5 separate regions of the Homo sapiens genome follow, and all the other regions are linked to region 1. The links are contacts of gene promoters, found by promoter capture Hi-C in human tissues and cell types (Jung and others, 2019). All regions are on one chromosome and are shown on one strand. The core of a region is centred on a gene start or on the middle of the fragment in contact, and the rest is flanking DNA. Distances in the headings are between cores, read along the strand shown.

The links. The method cuts DNA at HindIII sites, captures the fragments that hold promoters and counts their contacts. A contact is called where the count stands out against the background at its distance.
Region 2: a contact is called between a fragment that was not itself captured here and the fragment with the promoter of GPD1 in region 1, in 1 of the 25 tissues and cell types used here (dorsolateral prefrontal cortex).
Region 3: a contact is called between a fragment that was not itself captured here and the fragment with the promoter of GPD1 in region 1, in 2 of the 25 tissues and cell types used here (IMR-90 fibroblasts and pancreas).
Region 4: a fragment that was not itself captured here is called in contact with the fragment with the promoter of GPD1 in region 1 in 1 of the 25 tissues and cell types used here (pancreas).
Region 5: a contact is called between a fragment that was not itself captured here and the fragment with the promoter of GPD1 in region 1, in 4 of the 25 tissues and cell types used here (IMR-90 fibroblasts, adrenal gland, mesenchymal stem cells and 1 more).

What each region holds. Positions count from the first base shown.
Region 1 is chr12:50,100,364-50,106,327 of GRCh38, forward strand. It overlaps GPD1 (glycerol-3-phosphate dehydrogenase 1), which reads left to right and starts at 3,645. Exons shown (of 8, transcript NM_005276.4): 1 at 3,645-3,728; 2 at 4,211-4,388; 3 at 5,185-5,325; 4 at 5,925-5,964. The coding sequence starts at 3,688. SMARCD1 (SWI/SNF related BAF chromatin remodeling complex subunit D1) reads left to right here. Exons shown (of 13, transcript NM_003076.5): 13 at 1-344. RefSeq lists an enhancer at 2,655-2,704. The HindIII fragment of the contact is 8,009 bases long and covers 1,573-5,964 here.
Region 2 is chr12:50,604,698-50,610,661 of GRCh38, forward strand. The region is part of intron 1 of DIP2B (disco interacting protein 2 homolog B); the gene reads left to right. Among named protein-coding and RNA genes, the nearest start is that of DIP2B, 100 kb to the left of the region's middle. The HindIII fragment of the contact is 7,225 bases long and covers 1-5,964 here.
Region 3 is chr12:49,749,595-49,755,558 of GRCh38, forward strand. It overlaps TMBIM6 (transmembrane BAX inhibitor motif containing 6), which reads left to right. Exons shown (of 10, transcript NM_003217.3): 2 at 2,870-2,955; 3 at 3,379-3,487. The coding sequence starts at 2,900. Among named protein-coding and RNA genes, the nearest start is that of TMBIM6, 11 kb to the left of the region's middle. RefSeq lists an enhancer at 4,257-4,346. The HindIII fragment of the contact is 5,198 bases long and covers 2,116-5,964 here.
Region 4 is chr12:49,804,852-49,810,815 of GRCh38, forward strand. It overlaps NCKAP5L (NCK associated protein 5 like), which reads right to left. Exons shown (of 13, transcript NM_001037806.4): 2 at 1,129-1,190. Among named protein-coding and RNA genes, the nearest start is that of NCKAP5L, 21 kb to the right of the region's middle. The HindIII fragment of the contact is 4,128 bases long and covers 1,266-5,393 here.
Region 5 is chr12:50,385,226-50,391,189 of GRCh38, forward strand. All of the region lies in intron 1 of FAM186A (family with sequence similarity 186 member A), which reads right to left. Among named protein-coding and RNA genes, the nearest start is that of FAM186A, 8.4 kb to the right of the region's middle. The HindIII fragment of the contact is 5,559 bases long and covers 201-5,759 here.

The sequences.
Region 1 (5,964 bases), core at 2,395-4,894:
AATCCCTCCCTGTTCTACACTGGGGACAGCAGAATTTTCTCCCCGTCTTCCCCTTCCTGCCATTTTCCCTCCCTTGAAAGGTTGACACTGGACAACCTTGGGGCAGCTGAGCCCTGGCCGCCTCCTGGCTGGAACCATGAGAAGGAAGCTCAGTACTTCCCACAGTGTCCCTGTTGATAACTGTTTTTATTAACTGAATTGTTTTTTTCATGGACCAAACTTTTTTTTGTACTGTCCCCTTATTGATGTTACCCAGTTTTAATAAAAGAATCTTCTGAAGGATGGGTCCTCCTACCTACTGTGAGAGAGCTCTTCCCTGAGCTCTTCTTCCTTCAATACCATTAGCCACGCTTGTAGTGTTTGTTCATTTTATTTGACAAGTATTTATTGAGCACCTGCTATGTGCTAGTTGTGATGCTAGACACGGGAGATAAAGTGGAAAATGAGATTTCTACTTTTGTGGACCTCAGGGTCTTACCTTAAGAGATTGCTGTCTGCCCCAGTGGTCCAAGCAGCCTAGTTGCTGGTTGGGATTATTGGGCTTCACCACTGGATCTTAAGAGCCCTTTCCCGACTTGCTAGGCAGGTACTAACAGGTTGGTGGCAGTCATTTTCCCCCTTGTCCATCTGAGCTCCCCAGAGCACTTGTTGGCTGGAGTGAGCCATAGATGCCCGTGATCCCTTAGGTTTGACGAACCTGAGCCGCCTTTGGAGGAGTTTCACTTCTTCCCCAGGGCTTCTGTTTAGATGTGGGCAGGATCTGGACGACCAAAGACATTTTTGCTTTTTGTGCCTGCTACTCTTTTTTTTTTTTTTTTTTTAGACGGAGTCTCACTGTTGCCCAGGCTGGAGTGCAGTAGCGCGATCTTGGCTCACTGCAAGCTCTGCCTCCTGGGTTCACGCCATTCTCCTGCCTCAGCCTCCCGAGTAGCTGGGACTACAGGCGCCTGCCACCATGCCCGGCTAATTTTTTGTATTTTTTAGTAGAGACAGGGTTTCACCGTGTTAGCCAGGATGGTCTCGATCTCCTGACCTCGTGATCCGCCCGCCTCGGTCTCCCAAAGTGCTGGGATTACAGGTGTGAACCACCGTGCCCAGCCTGTGCCTGCTACTCTAAGGTTCCGCTTTCATGGTTCAAATAAGAGTTCAGTTTTTGTTTGCCTGTTTTGAGATGGAGTTGTGTTCTTGTTCCCCAGGCTGGAGTGCAATGGCGCGTTCTCGGCTTACTGCAACCTCCGCCTCCCAGGTTCAAGTGATTTTCCTGCCTCAGCCTCCTGAGTAGCTGGTTCTTAAGAGCACCATGGAAGTTCTGTGTTGTCATCCTCATACTGTAGACAACTAGCCCCTCCTTGGCAGAGTTTGGAAGACAGCTCAGGAGGGATTCCCATTAGCAATCACTTGAAACTCGCCTGCAGTTCTGCCTGCTTCCCACTTGGAGGCTCATGACTTTTTTCCTTTGTCATTATGCAAGAATGGGGTTTGGAATATAGGATCAGAGTACAACCACTTTCCAAAGTTGTAGTTTAAAAATTATCCTTTGCCTGTTTGGATGGGAACATTCTAGTATTGCCTGTTCAATATATGTAATCAAACCCACCAAAAAATCCAACCACTGTTCCTACTCCGGAACTTGGGGTTTATCAGACTTGAGAAGGGAAAGCAGAGAGGAGTGGTTGGGCCGATAACTAGGAGTGGAGAAAATTGATGTCAAGGACATTGAAATGGCATCTGTTTTTACCCAGGCTAATTACATGTGTAATGAATGGCTGATGAACCATTATTAATTTCAAGCAAATCTACAGTTTGCTCTTGGGAAAAGAGCTCTAGTGATACAGATAACTTCCTGTGATGAGCCGATTCTGAATCTCTGCACCCTCTTTATTCCCATGTAAATGAGCACATTCTTAGTCTCCACACTATCTAAAATGATTGTAGGGGCAAAATGAGAGAGGGAAGCATTTAGGCAAAAACAAGGGGGTTATTTTATGCATAAACATCCATTCTTTGGGGCTCCCATCATTTGTGCCAGGGACAGAAGCATCCTTTCTCTTCCATCACCCGTAATCAGTGCTCCCAGCTGGCAGCCTGGCACTGGAGCCTTCATCTCAGTGCCAGTGCAATAAAGGAGTGGTCTGTGGGAGGCTGTTTCTGTATTAGGTATAACATTGTGCTAAGAAAAACAGCCAACTACTGATTTCATGTCCGTTTCCCTATGGGAAATTACTGGCCATGGAAGGAGAATATGGTTGGTTTTTCCTGGGCAGTCCCCGGAACTTAGAAAGCCATTTCTCCCCAGTCTTGACCTCCTGCCTGCTTACTCCTACCCATGGGTTGCACACAGACTCCCCTGTAGCCCAGTGCTTGTTACCAGTTGCTGGCCAGCAACAGCCCAGGGGGATGGCAACACCCACCTAGCCGTCTGCCAAGCCAGGAGGTCAGCACATGAGCACACAGTGGTGTCTGCCCTCTAGGCCAAGGTGCACAGTGTTAGGAGCCTCTTGCTCCACTCTCCAGATCAGCCTGGAAACCAGAGCTTCCCTCGTCTTAGACAAACAGATGGCCGTGGGCGATGCAGAGCCCTGAACTGCTGAGGGTGCTCCTTCCATTCTCGCCCTTCCCCAAAAAACATACACCAAACTTACCCCCAATCACAGCATCTGAGACCACAAAGCCCCACGGACACAGCTGCCCCGGGTACTGCCTGCCTTCCCCTTTTCTGGCCTCTGCAAACTAGCCATTCACCTGATGAAGCCCCTGGGGCAGTACCTTGGAAACCCCTGAGAGGAGGAGTTGAAGGAGGCTCAAAGCCTTTCAAGGACAGTGTGCACTCTGCCTGCCTCCTATTCTCTCCTGTCCTCTTAAGCCCAGAGTCTACAACAAAATTGTGTACCGCAATTCTCAGAGCTCTCTAACTTTAACCTTTCCCACCTTCCCTAGAACACATTTTTGGGTGGGGATCATCTGAGAGGCCCATGGATGAGTCCCCAAGATGACCTCTGTGGGTGACCAAGACAATCTTGTCTTTTGAGGCACCTGGAGTCTCTCATCCTTTTTTGAGCTGGGCTGTCCTCAAAGCAGGCCCTTACCTCTTATGTGGCCTCATCTTTAGAGGTGGGAAGTGGGCCCACATCCCCCACCCCAGCCCTGCAGTGGAGCTAGCGTGGGCCTGCTGGAGGACAGAACTGTGGAACAGGGTCCTGTGAGGATATGTGGCAGGGTTGGCGGGGGGATAGGGGGTCATGGAGGAGCCTACCTCTGAAAAGCATTCCCCTAGCTGCTACTGAAGCTAAATACAATTTATTTCATGCTGGGGGACAGAAAGGAGCAAGGGAGAGCAGTCACCTGCTCCTTATCTGGGCTATTTTCTTAGCAGACCTCAAAATGAGACCATGGTGGGAAGCTGGGCTGGGGCCAAGGGAAGAAGCTTGCCAGCACTGTCAGCCGATGAGCCCAGGAGAAAAAGCTGGGCCTAGTCTCTGCCCCATTCCTGTTCCACACCTGTCTGTACCCCTGTCTCTCCTTTCCCTGGCTCTGCCAGACTCTCTATCTCCCTGGGCGCCAGCCTCCCCACCCACCCCTGGAGGGCGGGGCTTGGCTGCACCCACGTGTGGTGGAGTTAAATGCTCCTAGCCGGCAGAGGAGCTAGGGAGTGTGGCACTGAGCCGGCTCAGGCAGAGACGCGGCACCATGGCTAGCAAGAAAGTCTGCATTGTAGGCTCCGGGAACTGGTAAGCAGCTCTGTCAAGTGATATGGGGGAAGGGTAGGCCCCCCAAGACAGAGGTGGGTAGGAGGCAGAATGGGTGGGAAAGGCCCTCAGGTTCCTGTTCAGCCCCTGCTGCTATCTTCTATCATAGCAGCACAGGACAGACGGTGCCCGGCCCTCTCCTGACCCCCGCCCTCCTGGGCAGCTGCACCTGTTCACCATGGGAAGGCGTCTCCAGAGCTCTCTATGTGAAGAGCCGCTTGAGTTTGGGGGTGGGAAGATGAGAAGTGGGGCTCCCTTCTCTAGTAGCAAAGGGTGAGGAGACTGAGTCTCCTTTCTACTGCCAGGTCACTGGGGACTATTTGTCATGGGAGTGGAGGTGATAAGGAAGGTAGGTAGGAGTGAACAGCCTGGGGGGCTGCTGTGAGATCCTGAGGTGGGGCGCTGCCCCAACTCCTGCCACTGTTCCCTCCTCCTGTACTTTCCTGTGCTCCCCCTCCCACCAGGGGCTCAGCCATCGCCAAGATCGTGGGTGGCAATGCAGCCCAGCTGGCACAGTTTGACCCACGGGTGACCATGTGGGTATTTGAGGAAGACATTGGAGGCAAAAAGCTGACTGAGATCATCAACACGCAGCATGAGAATGTCAAATACCTGCCAGGGCACAAGTTGCCCCCAAATGTGGTGAGCCCCAACACCCTGCGAAGAACAGGGAGAGGAAGGGAGGGCCAGGAGTTGGAGCCGACCTTACTCAACAGGTGCCTCCTGCTGAGAGGGCCGCTTCAGGTGCAGCAGGACTTGGGAAGGTCTCAGGAGGGCTGCTCTGGGCCCTTTCCTGAGGACTGAGGAGAACCTATGCTTTCCCCTCACAGGCTCCCAGGCGGGTGGGTGGGGAAGGGATGGGAGAACAAGTTGGTCTCCATGGCAGCCAAAGACTGGGCTCCCAGACTTGGGGTCCAGTAGTGCCTGCCTCCGGCACTAATCCTGTTACTCATTCACTGAGTGAGTAGCCGACTTGGAGGCTGCTCCTTGGACTTACGGTCTTTGGTCAAATCCACGTGGCTCTCCCCACCTGGAAAGGGGAAGCAGGGAAGAGAGCAGAAAGGCTGGGGCTCCCCCTTCCCAGCTGGGGTTCCTGAGGAGCTGGGTGATGAAATCTTATTTGAGCTCTTTCTTTTGCCAAGCCCAGGCTGCTTTTGGCCTCCCGCACTGTCCCACAGCCAAGGGATAGGAGAGTGCTGGGATGAGGTTTCCAGGAGTCCTCAAGAGCCCAGGACAGCTGGAGGGAGACAGAGTGGTAGCTGGGGGGAGGGAGTAGAGTGTCTTATTCCTCCAAGTTCAGTCCTTCTAGATTCAGTCCCAAACAAGCCTTCCTGCTCCCCTACCAGCCTCACTCTTTGGCTCCCAGATCTCCTGAATAGGGTTCCACAGGGGCTAGGGGAGGTCTGCCAGGCCCGCGAGCACTTGGTCACCCCCACAGGTGGCTGTCCCAGATGTGGTCCAGGCTGCAGAGGATGCTGACATCCTGATCTTTGTGGTGCCCCATCAGTTCATCGGCAAGATCTGTGACCAGCTCAAGGGCCATCTGAAGGCAAACGCCACTGGCATATCTCTTATTAAGGTGCCAGGGACACCTTCATGTGGATGGGGGAGGGTGCGGCTCACTGTTGTGGGGTTCAGGGTGGGTGAAGCAAGGAGAACAGAAAATGGCAGACGCAGGCCAAGAGTTTGCTGGAGAAAAGAGAGGCAGTTGGCTCTGGAGAGGCTTAGGAAAGCAGTGAGGTGCTGGGGGTCACTGGAAGGGAGGCTGAAGGGAGGAGACGAGATTGGTTTGGAGGTCCTCTCGGGGAGTTTCGGAGGTATAAAGGAATGCCTGGGAGATATGAGAAGCGGGCTGGTTTGAGAAGTGTGAAGAGTAGCTGGTTTGGAGCAGTGACTGGTCACTGAATGGCAGTTTGTTGGGGCAGTCAGGCGGGGTTGCCTAGGGATGTGGAGGGGACCCGTTGCCTTGGAGAAGTAGACTGGTTGAGGGTATGTGGCAGGACAGTTGGTCACATGCTGTCTGGCCTCCTCACAGCAAACTTGAGCTGGGTTGGAATGGGGCAGGACCTGTCGGGAGGGACACAGATGAGCAATGGATTTGGAAGGGACAGAATTTCTGGGCGGAAGCCCGCAGGTGGGCCCAAAGGGCACCTGGCCTGAGCTCCATCCTGTGCTCAGGGGGTAGACGAGGGCCCCAATGGGCTGAAGCTCATCTCGG
Region 2 (5,964 bases), core at 1,753-4,252, 500 kb after region 1:
CCTCCCAGAGTGCTGGGATTATAGGCATGAGCCAGTACACCCAGCTTGATTGCATTGTTGACAGATGAAGCGATATGCCTGATACCAGTTCTTTGAATTTTTTATAACTTGCTTTATGATCTGGTATGTAGTCAATTTCTATAAATGTTCTATTTAAAAAGAATATATATCAATGAGAGTTCCACAGATAACCTCTACAGAAAACTGAGTGAACCTCTTCAGTTCTCCCAAGGATAGTACGTAGCCGGTATCACTTCAGATGCACAGGAGATAAGATACTCATTTTATGTAATGAGTAAAAAGACAGAAACATGATGAATTGCTTAAAGATTCTTATAAATGACTTGAAGTTTATATACACATACCCATTAATGTAGCCTGTTTTCTAGATGACAGTGTCTTTTGAACACCCCGATTTGATTTATTAAACTTTAGATGCAGTAAGGTTTAAAAAACCCCCAACTTTATTGAGGTATAATTCACGTATCATACAATATACCAATTTAATATATAATGGAATGTTTTTTAGTAGGTTCATAGTGTTATGCAACCATCACTGTGATCTGATTTTAGAACGTTTTTAGAACTCCAAAAGAAACCTCAGCCAGGTAAGGTGGCTCATGCCTGTAGTCCCAGTATTTTGCGAGGCTAAGGTGGGCGGATCATTGTAGGCCAGAAGTTTGAGACCAGCCTGGGCAACATGGCGAAATACAAAAATTAGCCATGCAGGGTGGTGTGTGTCCGTAGTCCCGCTACTGGGGAGGCTGAGCTGGGAGGATCACTTGAGCCCAGAAGATGGAGAATGCAGTGAGCTGAGATCACACCACTGCACTGCAGCCCGGTCAACAGAGTGAGACCCTGTCTCCAAAATAAAAAGAAATCCCATATTCATTAGCAGTCAATTCCCTTTCCCCCTACTCATCCCCTGGCAAACCTGAATCTATTTCTTTGTCTATGCATTTGCCTATTTTGGATATTTGATATAAATGGAGTCATAGAAAGTATGGTGTTTTATGAATGGCTTCTTTCACTTACCATGTTTTCAAGGTTCAGTCATGTTGCAGCATGTATCAGTACTTCATTCATTTTTCTCTTAATTTATTTATTTCCTGCTCTGCCTTTTCTTTTCTTTCGTTTTTTTTAGATGGAGTTTCACTCTTGTTGCCCAGGCTGGAGTGCAGTAGCATGATCTCGGCTCACTGCAACCTTCGCCCCCCAGGTTCAAGCGATTTTCCTAACTCAGCCTCCAGAGTAGCTGGGATTACAGGTGTGTGCCACCATGCCCGGCTACTTTTTTGTATTTTTAGTAGAGACATTGTTTCGCCATTTTGGCCAGGCTGGCTTTGAACTCCTGGCCTCAAGCAGTTCACCCATCTTGGCCTCCCAAAGTGCTAGGATTACAGGCATGAGCCACCGCACCTGGCCTTTCTTTTCTTTCTTTTGAGATGGATCTTGCTCTGTCACTTAGGCTGAAGTACAGTGATATCATCATAGCTCCCTTACAGCCACAAGTTCTGGGCACAAGTGATCTTCCCACCTCAGCCTTTTGAATAGCTATGGCTACAGGTGTGTGCCACCATGGCTGGCTAGTGTTTTTAGTTTTTGTAGAGATGAGGTCTCACTATGTTGCCCAAGCTGGTCTGGAACTCCTGGACCTCAATTAGTCCTCCTACCTTGACTTCCCAAAGTGCTAGGATTACCAGCATGAGCCACCACTCTTAGCTCTTCATTTGTTTTATTGCTGGATAATATTGCGAGGATATACCATGTTTTATTTATCCATTCATCAGTTGATGGACATTTGAGTTGTTTTTACTTTTCATTTACAATAATGATGCTATGAACATGGGTGTGCAAATTTTTCTCACCTTCAAAGGAGGTGGTTTTTAGCTGATCTTCATAAAATTCACTCATTCCAAAAAGGCATACAACTCATATCAGGACCCTTTGATTTGTAATTTTTTTCTGAGATTTTAATTTAATTTAATCTTTTTGATGGTCTCGCCCAGGCTGGTCTCCAACTCTTGCGTTCAAGCAATCGTCCCACTTCAGCCTCTTGAGTAGCTGGGACTACAGGCTCATACCACAATGCCTGGCTTCTTTTTCTGTTTTTTTTTTTTTCCTCTTGAGACAAGGTCTCATTCTGTCACCTGGGCTAAAGTTCAGTGGCACTATCTTGGCTCACTGTAGCTTTGACCTTCTGGGCTGAAATGATTCTGTCACCTCAGCCTCCTGAATAGCTAGGACAAGTGTGTGTCATCACACCCTGCTAATTTTTGTATTTTTTGTAGAGATGAGGTCTCACTATGTTGCCCGCAGTGGTAGTCTAGAACTCCTGGACTCAAGCAATCTGCCTGCCTCTGCCTCCCAAAGTGCTGGGACTACAGGCATGGGCCATCATGCTTGGCTTCTTTTTTTTTTTTTTGAGGTTTTGATGGTTGTTGGTGGAGTGGGTGGAGAGGGGAACTAACATTTATTTATTGAGTGTCTGCTTTGGACCAAGTACTCTGTTGGGAGCTTTGCGTAGATTATCTTCCTTAATCCTGTTAACAGTCCCATGAGAAAAGTGCAGATTTCCCCATTTTACAGATAGAAAAAAACAAGGACCCAGGAAACTTAACTAACATATCCAAAGAGACATAGCTAGTAAATGATAAGCCAGGTTTGGAACCTAGATGTTTCTGACTTCCACAGCATTACACAGATATGGAATGGAAGATCTAGACATTTTTAAACATTAAGACAAATTTTGAAGATAATCTCATTACTTATTTTTTATCAAATCAAGTCTTTCCTGTGATTTTTCTTCCTTTCCTTTTCTTGACAGCATCCCCTTTCTACTACTGAAAAGAAGGCCAGTGCTCTATCAGCTATATATTCAGTGGTTTTAAGATCTTTCGGCTAAGGTCAGGGTTTTTGTTCAAACACAGTCTTGCTCTGAAGTGTAATAGAATATAATCAGCAAAAGCAGAGTGGTTGAAGCTTGGAGAATTTCCTAAAATTACTAATAGCTGTAGTACAGCAAGCTCTTAGTCTGAAAACAGAGGAAACACATCATTCCTCACACAGTTTGCTTGTTTTCTGGGTTTTTTATTTGTTTGTTTGTTTTGTTTTGAGATGGAGTCTCAGTCTGTCACCCAGGCTGGAGTGCAGTGGCACGATCTCGGCTCACTGCAACCTCTGCCTCCTGGATTCAAGTGATTCTCCTGCCTTAGCCTTCTGAGTAGCTGGGACTGCAGGTGTGCGCCACTACGCCCGGCTAATTTTGTATTTTTTGTAGAGACAGGTTTTTACCATGTTGGCCAGGCTGGTGTCAAACTCCTGACCTCTGGTGATTCGCCCATCTTGGGCTCCCAAAATGTTGGGATTACAGGTGTGAGCCACTGCACCGGGCCACAATTTGCTTATTTTCAAATAAGCTGTAGTCTTTCAACAATTAGCAAATTAGTATTTGGAATTTGTGTCCACCAATTATTTTTAACTGATAGTTTATTTAGATAATATCTTGATGGGGAAGTCTTAGCATATCAAATGGTTGCTGTTTTAACTGCAAGAATAAAAAGAAACAAAAATGCAATTTAGAAAAGCCATTTTGATTATGCTGAAAACTTACGTGGAAACAGCATCTATCAGAAATAGTAACACTAGGTGCGGTGGGTCACACCTGTAATCCCAGCATTTTGGGAGGCTGAGGTAGTTGGATCACATGAGGCCAGGAGTTCGAGAGCAGCCTGGCCAACATGGAGAAACTCTGTTTCTACTGAAAATACAAAACATAGCTGGGTCCACGTGGTGGTGCGTGGCTGTAGTCCCAGCTACTCTGGAGGCTGAGGCAGGAGAATTGCTTGAACCTGGGAGGCAGAGGTTGCAGTGAGCTGAGTTCGTGCCACTACACTTCACCCTGGGTGACATAGCAAGACTCAGTCTCAAAAAAAAAAAAAAAGAAAGAAAAGAAAAGAAAACAAATAGTAACACTAGCACAGTCTATCGATCAACTAGTTCAACACTCTTAATGCGTGTTCCTAGATAATTTTACATTAGTTTAAAAGTTTCTTTGCAATACTCTGATTTCAAAGAAGTAAACCATATTTACTTTTGTAAGAATCCAGCCTAGAACAAAATTTCATTTATGTAAGCAGAAGCAGTGCAAAAAATATTTATTAGCCGGGCATGGTGGCTCACGCCTGTAATCCCAGCACTTTGGGAGGCTGAGACGGGTGGATCACCTGAGGTCAGGAGTTCGAGACCAGCCTGGCCAATATGGTGAAACCCCATCTCTACTAAAAATACAAAAATTAGCCAGGTGTGCTGATGGGTGCCTGTAATTCCAGCTCCTCAGGAAGCTGAAGCAGGAGAATCATGGAGGCAGAGGTTGCAGTGAGCCGAGATTGTGCCATTGCACTCTAGCCTGTCTGACAGAGCAACACTCCGTCTCAAAAAAAATAATAAAAAAAAAATTATCAAGAGGATTAACAATGAAAAGTTTATAAGGGATTTGTATCTTCTACATAAGAGTTAAATTAGCTTTTAAAAGTTTTAGTACCATGGTTTATGGTTCTGGTGGAGACACCAAGTAGCAGCAATTATTTGTTGCCACTTGACTGAAAATTGTCTCATTTGCTTTGTATTTGTTGGACAATGGGTTTAAGTACATGTAGTGAAGACCCCAAATAACAGGTACTTAAAACAAGATAGAAGTTTATTTCTAGGTCATGCCATGGTCTCAACTAGTACAGCAACTCTGCTTCATGAGGGTATTGGGCAACAGGCCCTTCTACCCTGTTCCTTCATCATCTACTGGTCTGGCTCTTCACCCTTTGTCCAATATAGCTGATTACCACATCCCATTTCACCCATTGGGAAGGGAGAAAGAGAAGGGAAGATACACCCATTCCATTTAAGAGCAAGATCTGGAAGTTGCACACATTCTTTCTGTTGATATCACATTGGCCAGACCTTAGTAATTTGACCGTACCTACCTATGAGGGGACTGGGAAATGTCATCGTCTTCTGAGTAGTTGATTGCCCAGCTAACCATCCTATTGTGGAAGATAAAAGAAGAGATAGGATGGACCACTTATCTCTCTTCAAATCCCTTGGCACACAAACTGCTTGTGGTTGTCTTTTTTTCTTTTACGCTTGGCTTTTATAATGATGTGTCCTGTTTCATGTTCTGTTAAAACACCATGTTCATAATTGAACAAAAACTTCATCCTGAGAAAACTGCATTACAAGAACATTTGTTATAACTAATAAAGGAAGTAAGTAAATCATATTCCAAATTCACAATGCCAAAGTATTTTTAATGCAGGAATTTTAATAAAGTTTTTAAGAATTCTGCAGATACAGCTATAACACCTAAATATAAATGACCAAACCCAACATTTGATTATTTCTAGCTTTTATTCTAGAATAATGATTTTTAAAATTACTACTATCACTGTCACCCTAAGGAATGGTTAGACTGCCTAATATCACATTTCCATATGTTGATAGCCTTGGAAGTATGTTATTTTTTCATAATATTCAGATGTGTGGTGATATTTGTTTGGGGAGTGATGGCAGGCAAAGAATGGTGGGTAGAGTTTTTTTGTTACTAGGAGTAGTGTTTTTTTCCTTTTAATTGCTAGTTTTGATTGTGATTAGTACAATGAGTGAAATACAGGAAATATCTGCTGGAACTCTGAAGTATTATTCCTTGCATTGTTGTCTTTGCTATTTTAGGATAAGGAATGTGTTGTTTCACCCCCCTCCTCCAAGTGAAACTTCAGGAAAGTAAAATTTTCTTTAGTGATATTGGAGATGTAAATATCTTTTTTTTTTTGGAGACAGAGTCTTGCTCTGTACATCCAGGCTAGAGTGCAGTGGCGCCATCTCGGCTCACTGCAAGCTCCACCTCCCGGGTTCACGCCATTCTCCTACCTCAGCCTCCCCAGTAGCTGGGAATACAGGCGCCCGCCGCCA
Region 3 (5,964 bases), core at 3,465-5,964, 350 kb before region 1:
GATAATTTTTGTATTTTTTGTAGAGACAGGGTTTCGCCGTGTTGGCCAGACTGGTCTCGAACTCCTGACGTCAAAGTGATCCACCTGCCTCGGCCTCCCAAAGTACTGGGATTACAGGCGTGAGCCACTGTGCCCAACCTGTAAGTCATTTTTGAGTCAACGATATTTTTAATTTACAATGGGTGTATCCAGATGTAAGCCATCGCAAATCAAGGAGTGTACCGAATGAGTATCAATTTCTCCCAGTGATAGGTCAACCCTGGTAAGTCAGGGACCATCTGCTTTACCAGGTTTCTTTTTTTTCTCCATAAAGCTAATAAAATTGCTGTGCCCTTTTGCGTCTATAATATTTGGTAGTTACATGTTTTGTTTTAAATTTTGAAATACTGATATTGAAAAACAGAAGTTTTAGTTATTTTTTAATGATTTCAAACCACAAGCTTCTATTAAATCAAAGTGAAATTGCCGTTTGACATCTCATCCCCCTGCCCCAACCCACACAGCCTTTGATGGTTTTGGTTTTTCCATCAACAGTTGTTAAGAGAGAACCAGAAAGAGGCAGTCAGTACCCCCTGGGAAACGTCAGAGAAGTATCTGAGAAAGGGGAGTTTCTGCCATTCTCCCCTCGAACAGATTCCGCCAAGCAGGGTCTGGTTACATGAGCATTGCCTCTTTCTTAGAATCCCCTGGGCGTTTGAGGATCCACCCCGCTCCATCCCTTACCTTTCTTTAATTCTTGTAATTGGAAGCAAGAGGTTCTTTAGCATTGCTGTTGTGAATACTGAGAAACTTGGCTCTGAAAGTTGCTTCAGTATTATTGTAAGTGCTGTCTAGGGATGTCATTAGGGGTGTTAATGGGAAACCTTAAACAAAGACACTTTCCAGGTGCTGAATTCTGCCATGCTGTAAGTGTGCTCTCTAGAGGACATAGTCATATTCATCTTGGTTATGGAAGGCTGTGGTTGGCCTTGTAACAACCTGCAATAATTGCACCATCTAGATCAAGAGGGCCCAGATCCGTGTGACTCAGAGGAGAGAGCAACAACCTTAGTAGGTTCTGCAGCTTCTCACTGTATCTGTCCTTAAGAACAGAATTAACAAAAGTTCTGAGGTGAGTAGTGATGTTAATGAGAGAAGGAAAGAAGAAACCAGAGAAAGCAAGCCAGCCATTGTGATTGTTTCATTTGTGGGAGAGAGCCTCAGGAAGCAGATGATGTTTATATCTTTCCACTGGCCCAGGATTCCTTAGGAAATTTGTTTGGGGACTGTAACTTTTATTATTACCTAGATGAATTGTTCTGAGTGTTGGGCTGGGTGCTGATTAGAGTGCTTCATTCAGTAGGTGGCGTTTCACACAACTTTATGTTTGAATCCCTTCCTCCCTGCCCCTCCTTTTCTGGTAGATTTAAAATGGATGGGCATTATGGCCCTGATAGGAGTTTGGAGGATTTATATTTAGAAGAGATGAAAGTTCTTGACTGGATCTTTAGTACTGTAGATTGAACACGTTTACTTAGGATTGCATGTGAAATAGGGGAGGGAGCAAAACTTAAGAACTTGACTTTATGGTGTTGATATGATCTAACCTGGATATAGTTCAGTTTAAAAATGCCCTTTTTGACATTGGGACAGTTGGCAAAAATCTGAATAAGGTCTGCAGATTAGAAATAGTATTGCATTAGTATTAATATCCTGATTTTGATCATTGCTTTCAGGATATACACACTGAAGTGTTTAGGAGCACTGTGTCTGTATGGTTAGGGAAAAAATATTTTTACATCTGTCTATATATTGCTATATAGAAAGAAGATGAAGCAAATGTGAAATATTAGCATTTAGGAAATCTGGGTGAAGGTTGTACAGGAATTCTTTGTACTGTTCTAACCTTTCTGTAGGAAAGGTTCTGAAACTGTCAAAAAAATACCCCCCAAAAAATCCTCCTTTCTGCATAAATTCCTTTTTTATGGAGGTAGGAACCTCTCTTTTTTTAAAATTGTGAGTCCTTTTCAGTTCAGTTCTTAAATGTGTTAGGTTAAGAAAATTTGATACGCATATATTTAAAATGCAAGTCTTAATGCCAGACCCAGCTTTATAGTTTTTGTTTGTTTTGTTAAGACTAGTCAAAGTTTTGTTTTTTATCTTTGAGGTGCTGCTAGTGAGATAATTTTTTTTTTTTTTTTTTTTTTTGAGATGGACTCTTGCCCTGTTGCCCAGGCTGGAGTGCAGTGGCGTGTCTTGGCTCACTGCAGCCTCTGCCTCCCAGGTTCAAGCAATTCTTCTGTCTTAGGCTCCTGAGTAGCTGGGATTACAGGTGTGTGCCAACACACCCAGCTAATTTTTGTATTTTTAGTAGAGACAGGGTTTCACCATGTTGGCCAGGCTGGTCTCGAACTCCTGACCTCAGGTGATCCGCCCACCTCAGCCTCTCAGAAGTGCTGGGATTATAGGCCTCAGTGAGCCACTATGCCCAGCCAAGGGAATTCTTTAGCATCTTGAAACAATGACATAAAATTGCTTTATGTGCCAATGTCTAGGTTCCTTTAACTAGATTGTTAATTGAGAATTTCTTTTATAAACTTACTGCCTTTTAAAGTGGCAAATCACCTGAAAGAATAGAAATCAGATGATAGTAACAAAATAGTTTGAGGGAGAAGAAGATGCATTCAATTCCTCTGTCGTCTTTAAGATGGTTGACTATGATTGCAAATATATTGTAGGACACATAAAAATAAAAATGGTTGTGTTAGGGCTGTAGAATTTTAGGCAAGTTTTCATCTTTCTGAACTTACATGTTGCTTTTTTTTTTTTTTATAAGCTGTTCGTGTGATTCTGTATGACTTAATGACTCTAACCTTTCTTTATTCTGCAGAGTGGAGACTGCTGCACGGACTCTGGAACCATGAACATATTTGATCGAAAGATCAACTTTGATGCGCTTTTAAAATTTTCTCATATGTAAGTGTTTTGACCTTGACTGGTTTTGTACTGCATTTCTTTTCATATCTCTTTGTCCCTTTTCTGCATTTATAACTTTTGTGTGTATAAGCTAACAAATTAACTTGGCCAGAATCCAGAGGACCTGATGAAAATGTCCAAATTCTACACGTTGCTGTGTGGTTATTGGAAAGGCATTTATTCTAGTTTGGGTACTGATTATTCATAATTTTGGGCATTTGGTCTTCCTCAGCATTTAAGGTTCTGTTAACCTATTTTCAAAATATTATTTTTTATTGTAATATGCTTTCCTAAAAGTATTTCAAACTATTTGTAACAGAACTTTTACATATTCCCAGGAAGGGAAAGAGAGAAATGATTCTTCTTAGCTTAAATATGAGATTGATCTGGGACTGATTGCTCTTATTCACATTCTTTTCTTAGAACCCCGTCAACGCAGCAGCACCTGAAGAAGGTCTATGCAAGTTTTGCCCTTTGTATGTTTGTGGCGGCTGCAGGGGCCTATGTCCATATGGTCACTCATTTCATTCAGGTAAGAACGATTTTCTCTCCTGGTTGCTGTGGTACAAATTACATTAGGAAAAAACCAGCTCAGCAAGGTGGTCCAAGGGACCCTGTTCCTCTCTTTAATCTTTATCAGTAGTTTAGGATTTAAACTCAGACATTAAATCAGGACATGTAAAGCCATTTTAATTTTCTGGCAACTGTGCCCCCTCTAGATACCGAAAAACAGAATGCCTTAACCTTGGCACTGAATGGTGTGCTGCTGACGTACAAGACCCCCACCCACTGAGTAGGCGCATGGCATGCATGCTGGGATTCTTTGGCACAGAAGCTTTTTTATCTTTTCCTCCATTCTTCCTTTACAAAACTCTGATTGTGTGATTAACTATCAGGAGAGGCAGGATTGAGATCTTTTTAAGGAATTGACCTGTTTTATTTTCCGATAACTGTTGTCTGCATGGTTGGGTAAAAACCTTCAACAATTTGTTTTCCTGTATTGAGAGAGAATCTGGGTTTGGTCAGCAGGAGTAGAAGGTACAGTTTGAGGAATAACCAGAAAGTTTGAAGACTCCCTAACATAGTCTTGTGCCTTTGTAGAGTATTCCTTTTAGCATAAATGTAGAGGTGGGCCTCTGTTGGCATTTGCCACTGTTGAGAACTATCCTTATGTTCAGGCATCTCCTGGCAGGGATTGTGTGAAAAATTACTTTAGACACTCAAAGGATAGGGCTTTGATCGCTTGAGTTTTAGGCAAGGTTAGCCCTTAAATAATTTAGTAAAATACAGTCAATCCTTGTTATTCACAGACTCTATATTTGTGAATTCACCTACTCATTAAAATTTGTAACCCCAAAATCAATACTCATGGCACTTTTTTTTTTTTTTTTGAGACAGAGTCTCGCTCTGTTACTCATGGCACTTTTTGCAGACAGTCACAGAGTGGTGAAAAAGTTGAGTCACCCTGCTGTTGCAGTGTTTTCAGCTGAGGTTGAACAAGACAGTGCTCTGCCTTCTTGTTTCAGTTCTCGTATTGTAAACAAATGTTCTTTTCATGGTCATTTAGTGCCACTTCCTTTGTATTTTTGTGCTTTTAATTGGTGATTTTGCTGGGTTTTTTGAGTGGAGGTCTTGTGGTGTCGTCCTGACTGGTCTCAAACTCCTGGGCTCAATTGATCCTCGCACCTCAGCCTCCCAAGTAGCTGGGAATACAAGCACATGCCACCATGCTTGGCTTAATTTTGCTGTTCAGAATGCAAACAGCATAGTGCTGAAGTGCTGTCTAGTATTCCTGAGTGCAGAAAGACCGTAATGTGCCTTATGAAGAAAATGTGTATATTAGATAAGCTTCATTCCGGCATGAGTTGTACTGCTGTTGTAACTGTGAGTTCAATGTTAAGGAATCAAAAATAATGTCAAATGAGGTGTCCTTAAACAGAAACACATATAAAAGCAAGGTATCTATTGATCATTTGATGAAAATGTTGTGACCTTAGGCTTGCAGGAACCTACCTACCTTTTATTTCCCTCAGGAACAAGGGTTTACTAATTCATTGTCCACTGTGATTTTATAACATAAACACTGAATAATGAGAATCAACTTCTTCCTTTAAAGGAAGGAAGGAACTTCAGTGTCTACGTCCATCCTTAATGATTTCTCTTTTTTCTAATGCCTATAGTTTTTCCCACTTGGCGTTTTTAAAAAAAGAAACACTTTTTTCTTACTACAAAGCTAATATGTGTTCATTTTAGAAAATTCAGAAAACAGACTAGCAATGAGAAGGAAGTATTTTAGAAACTTCCATAATCCCATCATCCAGAAATAACTACTGTTAACATTTTAGTACTTTGCAGTCTTCTGTATATGTATGTGTCTTGGTGTTTTGGTGTTTGGGGGTTTTGTTTGTTGGTTTTTGTTTTTTTGAGACGGAGTTTCACTCTTGTTGCCCAGGCTGAAGTGCAATGGCGTGATCTTGGCTTACTGCAACCTCTGCCTCCCTGGGTTCAAGCAATTCTCTTGCCTCAGCCTCCTGAGTAGCTGGGATTACAGGCGTGTGCCACCATGCCTGGCTAATTTTGTATTTTTAGTAGAGACGGGGTTTCTCCATGTTGGTCAGGCTGGTCTCGAACTCCTGATCTCAGGTGATTTGCCCACCTCGGCCTCCCAAAGTGCTGGGATTACAGGCGTGAGCCACCATGTTTTTTTTAAAGTGACCAAAGGGGGATCATTTCTATTTGTTCTACAGATGGAATGTACTTTAAGCACTTGTCACGTTTCATTCATCCTTTCTATTTTTTGGGCAAGACTCACTCATAGTTTGACTTGGGTAGTTGTACTGTAGTTGAAGGACTACGCAAGCCAGAAGAGCCTCCAGCATCCACCATGGTCCTAACTCTGTGCTTCAAGGCTTCTGGGTTATCTCCTCAGCCCCATCCCTGAGAAAACACTACTTTTTCTCCTGCCTCCAGGTTATAAGCAAATGTTAGGAAGTTCAGACGAGTGTTTGA
Region 4 (5,964 bases), core at 2,080-4,579, 300 kb before region 1:
TGAGCCTGGGGCCTGGCGCCCTTAGCTCTAGCTCTGGCTCCAGTGCTCACTTGCTGGGTTATCCCAGGGCAAGGTCCCGATCCCTGGGCCTCAGGCTCCTCCTGGACAAAGTGGGAAGTGCCCTGCACCCCTCCGGGGCTCTGCTTTCTAGCTCCAGCCTCACTAGGCACCCACTGCCCTGGCAGGAGCTAGGCCCCGTCAGATCAGGCTCTTTGTGCACGATGGTCCTTCTGCTGGGGTCTCTTGACACCACCCGCTCCTTTCGACTTGGCCAGCTCCTCCCTATTCATCCTTCAGGGCTCCCAGGCGATGCTCCTGCAAGATTGTACACCAGCCTCCCCCACCAGACAGTCAACTCCGTGAGGGCAGGAACACTGCATTTGCCTCCCCATCCAAACTCACATGCCTCCTGGTGGGATCCCTGGCATGTAGGAGACAGACTGATGACTAGACGAAGCTCATGACCACATCCAGCACGGCCAGGGCTCAGACCTGCATCACACCATGGGATCCTCCCACCCCACCAAACCATTGCCATTGTTGCTAGCTTGAACTGACTAGTCTTCATCTTCCAATTGAGTTCCAATTTCTCTGCTAGAGAAAAATGCTGTTTTTCTTTCATACAAATATTGTGGAGGTTTCCAGTAGATGGGCAACCCTTCCTATTATAAAAGGGTGGAAGCTTGGTCCATCACTGACTACCCCTTGTGCCATTGAAGCCCCCACAAAAGAAAAATGGGGTTGGGCGTGGTGGCTTATGCCTTGTGACCTCAGCACTTTGGGAGGCCAAGGTGGGAGGATGGCTTACGGCTAGGAGTTCAAGCCCAGCCTGGGCAACATACTGAGACCGCATCTACCAAAAGAAAAAAAAAGAAGTGGGAGGATCCCTTGAGCCCTAGAGTTCGAGGCTGCAGTGAGCTATGATCGCCACTGTGCTCAAGCCTGGGCAACAAAGCAAGACCGTTTCAAAACAAAAATAAAAAGGCTTGGAGCTTTTGGACTATAGGAGAGAGGTGTCCTCAGCAGCTCACCATCGAGCCATCTGAGTGCTTGCTTCCTTATCCTCCACAGTGGAGCCCAGGGGTGCCTCTCCCACCCCCAGCATGCACAGGCCCCAAAGCCCCTCACCTGTCTCTGCCCCCTTACGCAGGTGGGCACACTCACTCTAGCATCCAGAACGGTCACCTTGCCTGTGGAGAAAAAAAAAAAGACGTCAGCCACGCACTTACTGGGCTCCTGCTATGTGCCAGGCACTGGGACACGGGACGAACAGCCAGAGACAGCCCAGCCGCTATGATGCTTCCACTCTATTGGACGAGGCCGACAATGTACAGCGTTGGGTTGTGATAAGGCACTGAGAGATGACAATTAAGCAGAGACCTGAATGAAGTCCAGATGAAATCCTGGAATGGGAAAGCATTTGGGACAGCAGAAAGAGCCAGTGCAAAGGTCCCCATCTCTCAGCCAGGAATCATCAGACAACAGAGGAGACTGAAAAGTCACACCTGGTACTTTACAACCCGGTTCTACAACATACATTGTCTTGCCTCGTGCTCAACAGTTAACCACAACAATGTTAAATGCTATTATCAGTGCCTGTGTTTCAGATGAGGAAACCGAGGAACAGAAAGTTACACTTGCACACACTGTGTTTACCCAGTGTGATGAATAGCACAGGCGCTTTCTTCCACACCATCCCATCCAGTTCTCCTAACAACCCTGGAAGGGGAGCACCCGCCTGCGGGAGGAGGCAGGCTCTGGGGCAGAGGATATTGCCCAAGTCACATGACTACTTCACAAAGCACACCAGACAGGCCTAGATTTTCCCACTCCTCTGCACACACCCAAGCTTCACTGTAAGCTCCACAGTAAAACAGACATTTAAGCTCCGTACAGCCCTAAGGCTCCCTGGAGGCTAGAAACTTGGGCTAGAAATCTGACACTAAAGAATCTCTTTTCTCTTGTTCTCACTTGTAAAACAGGGATAAGAACACTTAGCCCAAAGGGTTGTTGGAGGACAAAATGAGATAATATATGTAGAGTGTCTGGCGTGAATTCCATAAATGGAGACTTTTCATATCATCACCTGCTGACAGAGGCACAGTACAAAGCTATGGGGTTGTTGTGGAGCCTGCTGCTACCTTGTCCGTTCACACAGAGGCCGACTCCGAGTCCCAGGGCCCTTACCCAGGGGTCTCCGCTATAGGGGCACCTGAAGATCTCAGAATGCTGCTCTGCCCACCCTGCCCTCAGAGGCCTCCTCTCCAACTCCTCCCAGCCGGCCCTCCAGCCCCAGGGCCAGCCTTGCCTTCCCTCTTCTCTTCTATACCCCAGAAAGAGAAGCAGCTGGATGTTTGGGGGCTGGGATTACAGTGAAAAGAGAGAATGCTTCTTCGTGTGTGTGTGTGTGTGTGTGTGTGTGTACACAACAGTGGGAAGGGGACTTCTGAAAACACTTGGAGGAAAAGGAAGACCTGTTTAATACTGATTTTTTTATTTTTTAAAGAGACAGGGTCTCACCTCACTGCCCAGGCTGGAGTTCAGTGGCACGTTCATAGCTCACTGCATCCTTGGCCTCCTGGGCTCAAGTGATCTCCTGCCTTAGCCTCCCAAGTGGCTGGGATGAGAGGCACGAGTCACTGTGCCTGGCCTCTAATGCTTATTGTTAATACTGTATAATAATCTGAAGTTTTTTATTTTAACATCATAAAAATGTATCATATTTAACTTGGTTTGCTCATAACATTATCACGTTTGATAGACTTAGAAATATACAGGCCTGGAAAAAAAATGAAAAATATTTAAGAATTATCTTCCTTCCCACACTCAAATGGGGTGAAACCCAGAATGTCTCAGGTCACCTCCAGCATCTGACCAGTGCCACCCTCACCCACAACTCTGGTCTCTGGGCCACTGTCCTCCCACTGCCTGCAGCAACCTGCCCATCGGTCCCCAGCGTGTCCCTCAATCCCCTCACCATCAGAGGGGCTAGGGTGTGGCTGAGGTATGCTGTGGAGGAAGAGAAAAAAGTTGGGAGGGTGAGGGAAAGGAATGGGATGAAGAAGGCAGCATTCGGGGTCTGGAAAAGGATAACGCTAAGGACCGGGAAACCCTAAGATTTGTGTTCTTCACAAGAAAGCAACAACGAAACAATGTAGAGTATCTTTTCCCAAAATAATAAAAAAGCATCCAGGTTAAGAGCAAGGCCAGGCTGTGAGGACTGGCTGCGGACTCTCTATGTGTGCACGCAGTGGTTTTCTGTGTTGAGGAGCATGGAGACCCCACACACTCCACACAAAGCCAGGCATGGCCCCGATCCACAGCTGAGCCCCTGTGAATCCCAGGCCAGGAGGCCCGAGTTCCACTGAGAATGGGGGAGACCCTCCGATTTATGAGCCAGCCAGTGGTCACAGTTCTTCTTCTCAGAGTGCCCCAGCTGGAGTGGGGCTAGGACTCAGCCCCTCTTCAGGAGAAATACTTTCTGGCCTCACAGCGAGGGGGTCTGGGGTCAGCCCAGGATGAGGGGGCCTCCTCTGCATCTGCAGGGCCGTCACAGTGGAGGGCAGGAAGCTGTCACGGGGAAGAGACCTGCAGGAAAGCTTGGTGGTGGGGAGGAGCACGGGCCATGAGAGTCGGCCCAGAGTCTGAGTTCAAGATTTCTAAAGAAAACTTCCTGCGTCCTTACCCTTCTCTAGGGAAGGTCAAGATCCAGAGAGAGACCACCACCACCAGCTCCAAATCGAAGCCAAGTCAGGAATGTGGCCCTCTGGAGTCTGGGCTTTCTGCCTGCCTCTCATGGGGGATGCCTGCCCAGGCAGGCTTCGCAGTGGTGGTCCCTGCTGCCTCCCCAGGGGCTGAGCACCGCCTCCTCCCTCAGGACCCACAGCTCCTGCTCACAGCCATGAGCTCAGCCCGACCTGGGGCAGGGAAAACCCCAGGCTTCGGGTTTTTGGAATGGCTCTGGTTTCAGACATTCCTCTGGTGGCCCCAACACGTCTGGGACGCTGGGTCTGGACACACAGTGCCGGCCAGGCAGGGTCTGGGAACTCTAACTTGAACTGGAGGCTTCTCCCGCCGGAATTGCCATCCACAAAGGCCTGATTCTGAGGGAGGTGACCTCAGTGCAGGGGGAGGGAGAGAAGGAGGGGGGAGAAGAGCGGAGTCCTCTCTGGCTCGTCCTTCAGAGGGTGTGGGGAGGGGGCCAGTTTTCAGGCAGCCAGGGCCGAGGAAGGAGGAAACTTGCTCAGGGGTCTCTGGGTAACCTGGGCGACCACCATCTCTTCAGCCAAGTCAGTCACGGAGGGCCCCAGCTCTCCCTTCCCCCTTAAAGCCAGGAGGGGACAGGGGCTTTCAGGGCCTCCAAAGAGATCTTACTGTCCTGGCCTTTCAGTTAGCCAGACCAGAAGGGGTCTGTGGCTCCTACCTCCTCTCCAGCAGGGCACAGGCAAGACCCCTCCCTGAACAGAGACCAGGCATGGGAGGAAGGGGCTGGAGAGGCAGGCGGCAGCAAGCCTGTCCTCATTCCCTCACCCCGGCCCTTAGCCAAGGCCTCCTGGCCCCTGGTGAGCCCCTCATTCACCAGCTGTTCCCCCCAGAGTCCTCTAGGGAGAGAAGCCAGGGACCAGGAGTGGGGGAGGGTGGGCAGCTGTAGGAAGGCAGAGATGGAGAGCTCACTTAATCACAGAATCACCCGTAACACCAACCGCTTCCCTCCGCACCCTCCCCAGCTGCTTTCTGGAATCCCTCTTACCCTCCCAGCCCTTTTACCAGTCACACCCAAGAATCCACTTGTAAACAGCAACTTCTGTCCCCACAGCAAACACCCTTTCCAGCCAAGATCAGCCCTGGGCTGCTGAGGAGTGTGGGGAGGGATAGGAGGACTGAGGCCTGGCTCCCAGGGCACTTCTAGCCTGAAAGGGGCCACTTAATCCCTGACCCAAAGCATCTTTCAGCCCTGAGAATTCCAACTGGTCTCCTCCCCATTCAGGGTAAGAGGGCAGACAAGAATTTCCTTCCCTCCTCCTGACAACTGGTACTGGAGACACAATAGCCCTTCTGAGAGGCATCTGTCTTGGAAGGGGCCCCCTACATCCCCCCAACTTCCGTTTCACAGGCACTCCAAGCACCTCAACCACCATGGTGTGAGTTCTTCCAAACCAGCTGCAGGATAGGTCCTCGGCCCTTCCAGGAAGGGAAGAAGGAAGGGCAGTCGTGTTATAAGCCCCAAAGGCCTCCAGATTTCAACATCCCTCATCTCCCCTCCCTCAGAGCCCTCCTGCTCCCTGTCCACAGCATAACCCAGTAACAAAACTAGCAGCTGCCGGGGGTGGGGGGAGGGAAGGGGGTGGGGAGAGGGAAGGGGTGCCGACACAATGGGTTTATTTATAGGACCACACACCAGGGGCTCTGCAGCCAAGTGGCCCAGGCCCCACTCCCAAAAGTCCAGCCCAGGCCGTCCTAGCCCAGCCGAGGGTACTGGAAACAGCCTTAGACCGGAAGGCAGAAGAGTCTAGGCATGGAGTCCAGTTCGAACTCTGCAATTAACTTATGTGCTGTGTGACTAGGCAAATCATTCCGTCTCCCCGAGATGAGTTTCTTCACGCCAAGTGGTTGTTGTTCTGCCACAGTGGTTCCCACAGTGGGGCCTAGGCACCCTGTGGCCCTCTCCAGGGGTCTGTAAGGTCAAAGCTGTTTTCCTAATACTACTACTAAGACACTATCTGCCTTTATTACTCTCATTCTCTCCTGAGTGTACAGTGGCATTTTCCAGATACTATGCTGTGTGATACCGCAAAAGATTGAATACCGAAGCAGACAGGAGAAGCCAGCTTCCTTCTATTAAGTCAGACAGAAGAAATTTGCAAAAATAGAGAACAATGACTTATTATTATTTGTGTTTTTGGAACATATACAATTAAATTTTTAAATAAAATATGTTAACATGTGATGGGTTTATTGCTATTT
Region 5 (5,964 bases), core at 1,730-4,229, 280 kb after region 1:
TGGCCAACATAGTGAAACCTTGTCTCTACTAAATATACAAAAATTAGCTGGGCATGGTTGTACGCACCTGTAGTCTCAGCTACTCAGGAGGCTGAGGCAGGAGAATTGCTTGAACCTGGGAGGCAGAGGTTGCAGTGAGCTGAGATTACGCCATAGCACTCCAGCCTGGGCGACAGAGCAAGACTCTGTCTCAAAAAAAAAAAAAAAAAAGAAAGTATAAAACTACTAGAAGGAAACAGGGGAAAAGTTCCATGACATTGTTCTAGACAATGATTTTTGTATATGGTTCCAAAAGTATAGGCAACAAAAGCAAAAATAGACAAATGGTATTACATCAAACTAAAAGGCTTCTTCATGATTTCACTCATATGTGGAATCTAAAGAAGTCAAACTTGCCGGGCGTGGTGGCTCAAGCCTGTAACCCCAGCACTTTGGGAGGCCGAGGTGGGTGGATCACGAGGTCTCAGGAGATCTAGACCATCCGGGCTAACATGGTGAAACCCCGTCTCTACTAAAAATAGAAAAACTTAGCCAGGCGTGGTGGCAGGCGCCTGTAGTCCCAGCTACTCGGGAGACTGAGGCAGGAGAATTGCTTGAACCCAGGAGGTGGAGCTTGCAGTGAGTTGAGATCGCACCACTGCACTCCAGCCTGGGCAACAGAGCGAGACTCCATCTCAAAAAAAAAAAAAGAAGTCAAACTCATAGAAGCAGACAGTGTAGAACAGTGGTTAGCAGAGGCTGGGGATGGGCAGATTGTGGAGATGTTAGTCAAAGGATACAATTTTTCAGTTAGACAGGAGAAATAAGTTCAAGAGATTTATTATACATCATGATAACTATAGTTAATAACAATACATTGTATACTTGAAGATTGCTGAGAGGAGATATTAAGTGTTCTCACCACAAAAAGAAATGTGAGGTGGCCAGGCATAGTAGCTTACGCCTGTAATCCCAGCACTTTGGGAGGCCAAGGTGGGTGGATCACCTGAGGTCAGGAGATCGAGATCAGCCTGGCCAACATGGCGAAACCCTGTCTCCACTAAAAATACAACAATTAGCCAAACCTGGTGGCACCCATCTGTAATCCCAGCTATAGGGAGGCAGGAGAATCGCTTGAACCTGGGAGGTGGAGGTTGCAGTGAGCCAAGATCATGCCATTGCACTCCAGCCTGAGAGACAGAGTGAGATCCTGTCTCAAAAAACAAACAAACAAAGAAACAAACAAAAAAGATATGTGAGGAAATGCATGCATTAAGTAGTTGGATCTAGCCATTCCGCAATGTATAAATATATCAAAACATAATGTTGTACACCACACATAAACCGTTTTGGTCAACTCAATACAGAAAAAGAACATTTTGGCCGGGCTCATGCCTGTAATCCCAGCACTTTGGGAGGCTGAGGCAGGCAGATCACTTAACGTCAGGAGTTCAAGACCAGCCTGGCCAACATGGTGAAACCCCGTCTCTGCTAAAAATACAAAAATTATCCAGGCATGATGGTGCGCACCTGTAATCCCAGCTACTTGGGAGGCTGAGGCAAGAGAATAGCATGAACCCAGTTTGGGGGTGGGGGGGTTAGGGAGAGGTTGCAGTGAGCCGAGATCGTGCCACTGCACTCCAGCCTGGGCAGCAGAATGAGACTCTGTCTCAAAAAAAAAAAAAAAATTCAACTTATGATTTCATCCCAGATGGATATTGGAAAAAACTTTCAGTTTTTTTTTCTATTCTATTTTTTTCTATTCAGCAAAACAGTTATCAACTTATTAACACAGAAGACTTCCATGATCAGACCAAATGTGGGGTCGGAGGAGCAGATTCTCCCCACCACCAAGCAGGGAACCATTTCTGCAATGGACATCAGGTGGGTGTCTTTTATTTCAATTCAGACACCATCTACCTAGATACAGTGTCAGATCCCATAGGTCGAAGCCTCAGTCCCCAAAACTGCCCCCACTCAGACACCAGTCACAAATCCAGGCCTCCAGAACTTCTGACCAATCAATTTCAATTTGGCATTCCTAAGACTCCCTCTTTTGGTTGGATTAATTTGCTGGGGCAGCTCACAGAACTGGTTTATTGAAGAGATGCTAGGGCAAGGTATTGTGGAAGGGGAATGGAGCTTCTGAAGCAGCTACATTGTCTCTGTTGTATACCTGGGGTTCATCATCTGGTACCAGGAAAATTTAGGACACGAATACACACTAGGAGTTTAGGAGTGGAGGTTTAATAGGCAGAAGAAAAGAGAAAGAAAAACAGCACTCTCAATAAAGAGAGGGAGATCTTCCCAGAGGAAAAGACCGGCTGGTGGTGGATGTGCTAGATTTTATAGTGTGGCTTGAGGAGCTGGTGTCTGATTTATGTAAGGCTCACAGATTGGTTCAATCAGATATGATGTTTACATAGTGCATATGGAAGGCTGGTTGCTTCACCCTAATATTACTATGCAAATGAACTCTCCTTGGCCGGCACCACGTTGTCTCCTCCTTACTGTACACAAGGCTGGCAGAGAAGGAAAGATGGAATCGCCCTCTTGAACATGTCTAGTCCCTAGTTTCTGCTGGCATTCACCCCTGCAAGCTCCCAGCTTGCTGCTCTGTGTCTGCAGCTCGACTTTACAGGCTGCTCTTTGTTAGAAAATGATTTGGGGCTGCTTTTCATTAAAAAGAAAAGCCTTACCAAGGACTCCCATACCCTCACTATCTGCCTACGTGATTTCTTCTTAACTCCTATATCACTTTCATATTCTCTCTGGGCACACCACTCTCCAGGAACCTCCATGTGTTCAACTCTCTGTAAGCTCTCCAAACCCTGTCCTTTGGGTTTGTATGGAGGTTTGATTACATAGTTATGGTTGATTAAACCATTGGCCGTAGATAAGCAGCTTGACCTTCAGCGGCTTTCCCCACCCCTGAAGGTTGGGGGGTGGGGTTGAAAGTCCCAACCCTCTAATCAGGGCTTTGTCTTTCTAATGACCAGTCCCATCCTGAAGCTAGCTGTCAATCATTAGCATACAAAAAGACATCACTTTGGAGATTCCAAAGATTTTAAGAATTGTTATATTTCACAATATCCCAATGGAATAACAGGGTCAAGGTTTATCCTTTCAGCCAGGCGGGCGCAGTGGCTCACACCTGTAATCGCACACTTTGGGAGGCAGAGGCGGGAGGATCCCCTGAGGTCAGGAGTTCGAGACTAGCCTGGGCAACACAGTGAAACCCCCCTCTCTACTAAAAATACAAAATTCAGCCAGGTGTGGTGGCACATGCCCATAATTCCAGCTACTTAGGAGGCTGAGGCAGGAGAATCGCTTGAACCTGGGAGGCGGAGGTTGCGGTGAGCTGAGAATGCACCATTGCACTCCAGTGTGGGCAACAAGAGTGAAACTCCGTCTCAAAAAAAAAAAAAAAAGATGTATCCTTTCATCCTGTCAACTAAGTGACAGTTGACAGTTACCTAAAAGGATTAATGAGAACAATTCACAGACCTCACCTAGGAAGGGGCAATAGTTTCTCCCTAGGAAAAATTAATTTCTTAAAATACAGTGCCTGGGCACAGTGGCTCATGCCTGTAATCTTAGCACTTTGGGAGGTCGAAGCGAGCAGATCACTTGAGATCAGGAGTTTGAGACCAGCCTGGCCAACATGGAGAAACCCCATTTCTACCAAAAATACAAAAATTAGCTGGGCGTGGTGCATGCCTGAGGTCCCAGCTACTCGGAAGTCCGAAGCGGGAGGATCACTTGAGCCTGGGAGGCGTAGCGTAGGTTGCAGTGACACGAGATCGTGCCACTACACTCCAGCCTGGGCAACAGCAGAGGGAGACTCTGTCATTTAAAAAAAAGAAAAAAGAAAAAAAAAATCAGGTGTGATGGCTCATGCCTGTAATCTCAGCATTTTGGGAGGCTGAGATGGGAGGAACACTTGACTTCAAGAGTTAAAGACTAGCTTGAGCACAATAACAAGACCTTATCTCTACTAAAAATAAAAAAATAGGCTGGGCACTGTGGCTCACTCCTGTAATCCCAGCACTTTGGGAGGCCGAGGTGGGTGGATCACCTGAGTTCGGGAATTTGAGACCAGCCTGACCAACATGGAGAAACCCCGTCTCTACTAAAAATACAAAATTAGCCGGGCATGGTGGTGCATGCCTGTAATTCCAGCTACTTGGGAGGCTGAGGCAGTAGAATTGCTTGAACCTGGGAGGTGGAGGTTGCAGTGAGCTGAGATCGCGACATTGCACGCCAGCTTGGGCAACAAGAGCAAAACTCCATCTCAAAAAAAGAAACTTCCTTGGGCCAGATGGTTTTGCAGGTAAATTCTACCCAACTGGCAAATTAATATACTCCTGAGATAGAAGACCGAAGCTGTATCGCTGGCCTTCCCAGATAAAAGCAAACTACTTCTGGTGGGCCTTATTGACAGATTGGAAGAAATAATCATTTGCCAGATCATAGCGGCATACCAGGAACCAGGGAATGTGTTAATTTGTTCAAGCAATGAAGCCACATCTGGTACAGAAGCTGTGACTGGACTTAGTACCTAGTTAAGCTTACAATAATCCACTGTCGTTCTCCAAAATCCATCTGTATTCTTTACAGGCCAAACAGGAAAGTTGAATGAGGATATGGTAGAAATCACCACTAAGGAATCTTTGAAGTCCTTGATGATGGCACTAATTCTTCCAGGAATGGGATATTTGTTTTATTTTTACTGTTTTCCTAGGTAGAGGCACTAGTGGCTCCTATTTGGCCTTTCCCACCACAGTAGCCCTCACTCCACAGGTAAGGGAGTCAGTGTGGGGATTCTGTCAGCTGCTGAGTATGTATATTCCAATTACACATTTTGGACCTTGTGAAATAACCACAGGATGGGTTTGGGGACACACTAGTTTCACTGTGAGATGGGCCTGAGCTAAAGCTTTTTTGATTAATGGGTAGACCACAATAACATTTTGGATCTCCTGGGATTAATGTCAGCTCAGAGCCAGTGCCCAGTAGTCCCCCAAAAGGTCTGATTATTTCCTTTTTCCCAATGCACACTCTGTTACAAGGTCAGCAGAAAAAGTAATAGTATACAGGTAGACCCAGGGTCCTTCTTCAAGAGAACTTGAGGTCCTGTTCACTCAAGGAGCTCTGAGTCTGTCAACTGGCTCAAGTTTGGGAATTGACTGATGGACTCTGACTCGTTTTCATGATTCATGATTCAGGTATTTATTTTCATTCGACCGAGGAATTTCCTACTTGTTCAGATTAAGTAAGAATTTAGTAGGCTTCCTATCTATTCATTTCTGGGAACATCTTGATCAACTAGCCAATGCCATAGGTCAGTGTGAGTCAGACTATTTTGATTGCTGCTTTCCTGCTGCTGTCCATTACAGTAATCATATCCACCTTGCCTTTGGTGGTTGGGTGCCACTACTGGGTCCCAGTTAGGTTTACAAATTCAGTGACTACAGTTCCCACTGTTAAGGTCTGAACTCTAGAGAAGAGTGATCACAGAGCTCTTCAAGGATGCCGGGGCTTCCTTCACTACATTTTTTCTCATACTATTGGTGAAAGGGCCTAGCACAATGGCTCATGTCTATAATCCCAGCATTTTGGGAGGCCGAGGTAGCCACCACCCCTGGCTAATTGTTGTATGTTTTGTAGAAACAGGGTCTCGCCATGTTGCCTAGGGTGGTCTCAAACTCCTTAGCTCAAGCAATCCTTCCACTTTGGACTCCCAAAGTGCTAGGATTACAGCCATGAGCTACCATGCCCTACCTCCTTTTTTTTGTTTTTGAGATGGAGTCTTGCTCCGTTGCCCAGGTTGGAGTGTAGTGGTGCGATTGTGGCTCACTGCAACCTCCACCTCCCAGATTCAAGCAATTTTCCTGCCTCAGCCTCCCGAGTAGCTGGGATTACAGATGCCTGCTACCATATCTGGCTGATTTTTGTATTCTTAGTAGAGATGGGGTGTCACCA